Linked DNA regions of Homo sapiens: region 1 is linked to region 2. The links are contacts of gene promoters, found by promoter capture Hi-C in blood cells and fetal thymus (Javierre and others, 2016). All regions are on one chromosome and are shown on one strand. Each heading gives the region's core, a stretch centred on a gene start or on the middle of the fragment in contact. The rest is flanking DNA. Distances are from core to core; before and after follow the strand shown.

Region 1 (3,007 bases), core at 236-2,735, 350 kb before region 2:
GTCTCACAGGCAAATGCACATGATTTCAAGGCTTGCCCTCTGAAGAAGGAGTCAGTGGTGGTTTTGGACAGGAATGGCATCACTTAAATGTATTTTCAAGGAGCAGAGTCACCTGATGCTGAGAACGGCTAGACTAAAAAAAAAAAAAGAAAGAAAAAAAGTTGATAGGTACTCGAATGTGTTTTATCTGCGTTAAATACGAAATGCCCAAGAATGGGACTTGGAGAAAATGAAATCATTATTTCTACTCTTTGACAGCCTTGAGACAAAATTTCCAAGTCAAATTTATAAGGCCTCGGATTTGGTTGCTTGTTTTGCTTTCTTCTGTCTTGCCAGTTACCTCCTGAGAGTTGGGCAAAGATCAGTAAGATCCCTTTGCTGTGGCTGCCAGCAAGTCTGTGCCTGATTTGACGAGATTCTGAAAAGGTACCAGTGCCTCCTCCCTCCAAGGCCTCTCGTGGAACATAACACCCTAGAACTATGCCAAGAGACAGAGCCAAGCCACATTTCAGTGTCTGCTGCTGCACCAAGCTCTGAGCAGAGGCCATCTTTTCTGCTCAAGAAGTTGTTACTGAATTCTTTCAAGTGCTTGCTTTGGGGACAAAAATGATCAAGAAAGATAGTCTCTGTACAACCAACATTTCCAGGAAACCCATTATTTGTGCATTATCTGTATACTCACAAACACACATAAGCACATGCACACATGCCAAGACACAAAAAGTTTTCAGTTAAGAGAGTCATGTTCCTAAAAGCTTTATCTTTTACACCAGTATTTATTGCTGTCTATCTTCATAAGGTCTACTGTGGGAGATGCTGGCATAGAAAGAACTTTGCCTCAGGAATATACGAGAAAACATAATCAGGGCAGAAAGCAGAGGTATTCAAATAACAAGGTCCTAAAGTGTGTTGCAGCTGATACATGAACTCACATCTAACTCAGGTCAACTCTGGGATAAAAATGAGCATCGAACAGTCTCCTCCCACAAGTATGTAGGCACCATGAGAACAGCAATGTTTAGTTTCTTGTTCCATCCTAAGTGCCCGGAACATTTCTGATGCTCAATTAATGTTTGCCAAATAACAAAAACACTTAGGGAATGTACCATATCAGAGACAAACATACCGTCTCTCAGTAAGTCCCTCCAGCATTAACACAGATTGTGATTTCTTTAGGTTGACACTAGCTGAAGTAGTTGGCTTGGATTTAGGGGCCATGTTGTATGCATCGTTAACAACAATCATATCTAAAGGAGCAAGAAGCTCACCCAGGAGAAGTGTGTGGGCACAGATACTGGTGGAATGAATGGAAGACTCCCATCTAACGCTCTCTCAGGAGGGTTGCTGGATTTAGCAAATAAAAATACAAGGTATTCAGTTACATTTGAATTTCCGATAAATGAGTTTAGCATGGGACAAACTTATATTCAAAAATATTCATTATGTATCTGAAATTCAAAATGAACTTGGCCTCCTGTATTTTACCTGGCAAACCTACCATGGGGCATACACTTTCTGAGTGGAAAGGTGGGAGGATGGTCTGACTTTTTCAATTGTAACCTCTCTTTCTCTCTGGGCACATAGGTTGTATCCTTTTAACTTTAATGTATGAATGCCATTGTAGTATGATAATCACAGTGGATTCCATTTAATCCCATTAAGTGTGCCATCAGAAATCCCAGTATTTTGAAAATGTTCCCTGAGCTTAACGATTTGAGAACCACTAGTGTACAAACTTTAGTAAGCAGCCTTCTTTAATCTGAAGGAAGGGTGTGCCCTATAATCTTCTTCCTCCCCTTCACATTGGGAAATTATTTCTGGGCGGATACCTTTGTTCAAAAGGTTGAAAATAGGCTTAGATGGCACTGTATTTCCTAAGTAACTTCCTGCCAATTATCAACCTCTTCATTATAAAGTGGGTCTAATACCCCACTCAGGGGGTGACGCAGGGGTTCCTAATGGAAGAGTATGGGAAAAAAGGACTCAATTAAGTGATGATAATATGAACTCAACTTTTCCAACACAAATAAGGCTTAGAAAAAGTGATCCCCAGACTTCTGTTCAAAACATCTTGTATTAGTCCTGGACCACAGCCAGTCTTTCCTGAGAACCCACACCTAGCTGTGACTCTAAACAAGTGATGAGTTCCTAGTCACAGTCTTAAAGAGACCAGGTCCGCCTGAGCAGCCCTGTGCTTTATGGGCCAACTCAGCCAGAAGCTTCAATGAATAACCATGATACCTTGAGTGGAGGCAGGAGGAGTGGCCGGAGGCAGAGGAATCCAGCTACTAACCAGGGAAAGGATTCAAATAGATGCTTTTCCATTAGAAAGTCTCTGTTCAAATGACCTCAAGGCTTAAAATTATAGAATTTTGTAAAGAAAATTCTCTTTTGTCACCTATAAGCATTATCACTTTTTATTGAATTATACTATAAACAAATATTGTTTAATTGAATGAGACTAATTAAATCAATGAAAATACAATGTTTACCTTTTCTGGAAACCTTCAGTATATTATATGGCATTTAAGGCATTTTACAAATTAACACCAATCTATCTTTCCAATCTTATTTCCTTCTGCTTCTTTCTGGGACTACTACATTCTAGCCAGAGGTTTCTGCACCTTGGCACTGTTGACATTTTGAAGGGGAGAATTCTTTGTTGTAGGAACTATCCTGTGCATTGTAGGATATTTAGTGGCATCTCTGGCCTCTATCCACTGGATACCAGTAGAACATACCCTCCCCGTGCAAGAGTGTGACAATTTAAAAATGTCTGTAGGCATTGTCAAATGTACCCTGGGGGGCAAAATCACCCCCATGAAGAACCATTGGGGGGCAAAATCACCAGCACTGAGGACTACTGCTCTGTCCCACAAGACAACTTTCCCTGCTATGAACACATTTTCTCAAGCTCTACCCACACTCCCCCACCACACCACACACACCTTTCACTCCTGTTCCCTTGACCTAAAACACCCTGCTTTCCCCCTTTCCATTGACAAAC
Region 2 (2,802 bases), core at 186-2,685:
TGGGAAGACTGTCCCATAGATTAGCCTGGTTGGGGGAAGAGGGAAATATCTGAGGGTCAGGGTTAGGGTTAAGGATCAAACTAGGATCAGACTAACCCCTGGGAGTTGGGCTAGGTTTTTTCTATGGGGTAAGAGGTAAAGATTTACTGTGTGAAGGACTGAAAAGACAAGGACAGACTCTGAAAAGAGAAGCAAGCTTAGGAAATACTGGTGTCCATGAAGGGATCCTCTGTGAAATATTTAACTTCTTTTCTCCTGAGGTTTTCTCCCACTTGGTATTTAGACATTTTGGGGTAACGTATATCTTGGAAAGATAGCAAATATATCATATGACAAAATAAAGGACACAAAAGATTCTCAGAGAAATGTGTGAAATCTAACAAGATTAAATTTAATATTGTAAATGTAAAAAACATACACTGGGGCTCAAAAAGCCAGTGGTAAGAGGACCCACTGTGGGAGATATGGGTTAAACAATATTAAACACAGTAAGCTCAATCGGTGGCAACAGAGTGACCAGACTCTTAAAAAAGAAAAAAAAAAGAATCTTACTTTTGATAACATTTCTTAAAGAATGTCAATAGAACACTGCCACTTTCTTATGAAAGGCCCCACTGAAAATATCTACCAAGAGGACTACAAGGCAAATCACAAGGCTACAGGTTGACCAGCCACAGCACAATACTCATTAACAGAAAGTGCTACACAGAGTGGGTGGAAGAAGTGTGACAATAGCAATCAAGGGGACTTAGATGCTGGAGCAATGTTCCAGCTTAGCCCAGGCTTTGGGCAAGAGAGTGTCCCCAAGAGAAAGCAAGTGAGGTCCCTAGCATAAGGAGCAAGAAGAATGTAGCATCCATAGGCAAACTCCATCAGTTCACCTCTGGGTGTATTTCTAAGTGGTAACCTCAGTAAAAAATAACTAACAAATGTTCAGCACCTTTGTTCCTACAAAATGGCCCATTCATATGGAGCCTTTTGGAAGGATATGTGGGTCTACTGTTCATCTTGTGCTAACATGAGTTTTCATCTTCTGAAGCTATTATTTCAACAGAATCAGAATAACAAGAGGCCCTCTCAAAAAGTTTCAGTGGTAAAATGCAGTAAATTAATTTTGACAAGAATGCAAATATTTACCACAAGAGAAGCATTATTTAAAGTGAGTTGGCCTTGGGAGTAAATGACTACTGATCTCCTTCACAAAATAACCTTTATGAGAAATAAAACCCTTTGGGTGAGCTACAAGTCTTAAACGTGGGTGCTACCATCCAAGTATCGAGAAAACTTACCCTAACATATCCATCTGACCCAACAGTGATAACTTCACCCTCATACAGCATTATCTGGTTAATGGGACCATTGTGACATGACTTGCTTGTCCCTCGACAGAGCTCCACTTTGATCAGACCACCTTCCCAAAGCAGCATGTTGCCCCATTCTGACCCTGAGAGCACCTGGCAGGTATGTGGAAAAAAGAAATGTGCATTAAAACAGGTAAGTGTACATATTTATGCCTCAAATAGTAGGTGAAAATTATTTTTTAAGGTTATCTTTATTGATTATAAAATTTTTAAATGGAAAAATAAAAAAATACAGAAATGAAGACCTACTACCCCAGACACAACTACCAATAACATTTTGATGTATTTCCTTCCAGCAATATGATCAGTTTTACATCTTTTTGATTAGGCTGTATGTTGTTGGTAATTGTTCATGTATGTATACAATAGACTTCTTGGTACATCTCTTAGGACAAAAGACAGGAGTGGAATTAGATGAGAGTCTACTTTTTAAATGTAATACTATCAAATTTTAGATGTTAGATAACTTGTAAGGCCAGTACTGAATTAAGTAGATTATAGCATAATAGTATCCAATTTCAAACAAGGATAATCATCTAAAACTTTTCTCAAATTAGCCTGTTTAATCTGGCATTTTCCCAAGTGCATGCCACCAAACATTAGTTGTTAAGATATTTAACAAGTGTCACAAATAAAGTAATATTTATTGAGTACTGACTCTGTACCAAGCACTGGTTCAGTACTTTATATATGTTAAGTTATTTAATGCAAAAAACCATATGAACTAGGTACATTTATCAGGGATACCATGTACACTTGTGCATGTTGGTTACCTCATTCTCCTAGAACAAACAGCTTTTTCTGACCCCCGCAAAGGAACCATATGGGCCAATGATAGCCCTGACTATTATTATCCCCATTTTACAGAGGAGAACATTGAAGCACAAAACAGTTAAGTAACTTGCCCAAAACTACCCAGTCAGCATTCTAATCCAAGCAAGGTGGCTCAAAACCTCCTATTCTGACTGCACAGCCTCAGAAGGCTGTTGCTAGGATAAACAAAGTCAAACAACTTTATTTTCTCTAGGACCCCTGGGAACTTTTAATAGAGAAGTATTTGCTGGGAATCACCAAGAGGAATTTTTAGATACAAAGGAATTTGACTTAAAAAGTCTTATTTTTATGGAGCTTCTGTACAGACTGATGTTCCATAAAAATGCACTTTGGGAAACTCTATTCTAATTTTTACCTGCATGCTCTAGAGGTCTACATTTCCATTTCCCCCTTATCTAGAGAAACTGATGATTTTATTCAGTCCTTTATCTCTTGGGTCTACCTATTTTTTAACAACCCTACCGACTTTACTGATTCTGTTCTTAAGCCTCAGCCATTTATGGTAGAGTCTTTAGACTTATTTTCTTCTGTCCAGTGATGAAAGCCAGCAGTGATGACAAAAACCTACAAAGCATTCCTTTATGAAATGTGACTCATATCTAGCTTC

Evidence for each region. The method cuts DNA at HindIII sites, captures the fragments that hold promoters and counts their contacts. A CHiCAGO score of 5 or more calls a contact.
Region 1: a fragment that was not itself captured here is called in contact with the fragment with the promoter of CFAP44-AS1 in region 2 in 1 of 17 cell types (erythroblasts); the score reaches 5.2 in erythroblasts.

What each region holds. Positions count from the first base shown.
Region 1 is chr3:113,051,573-113,054,579 of GRCh38, forward strand. All of the region lies in intron 1 of NEPRO-AS1 (NEPRO antisense RNA 1), which reads left to right. LOLI1 (lncRNA oncogene in liver cancer 1) reads right to left here. Exons shown (of 3, transcript NR_189285.1): 3 at 1-133. Among named protein-coding and RNA genes, the nearest start is that of RMP64, 33 kb to the left of the region's middle. RefSeq lists an enhancer at 1-131. The HindIII fragment of the contact is 1,464 bases long and covers 754-2,217 here.
Region 2 is chr3:113,402,563-113,405,364 of GRCh38, forward strand. It overlaps CFAP44-AS1 (CFAP44 antisense RNA 1), which reads left to right and starts at 1,436. Exons shown (of 6, transcript NR_046728.1): 1 at 1,436-1,494. CFAP44 (cilia and flagella associated protein 44) reads right to left here. Exons shown (of 35, transcript NM_001164496.2): 9 at 1,290-1,454. It overlaps SPICE1-CFAP44 (SPICE1-CFAP44 readthrough (NMD candidate)), which reads right to left. Exons shown (of 52, transcript NR_183050.1): 27 at 1,290-1,444. The HindIII fragment of the contact is 6,429 bases long and covers 195-2,802 here.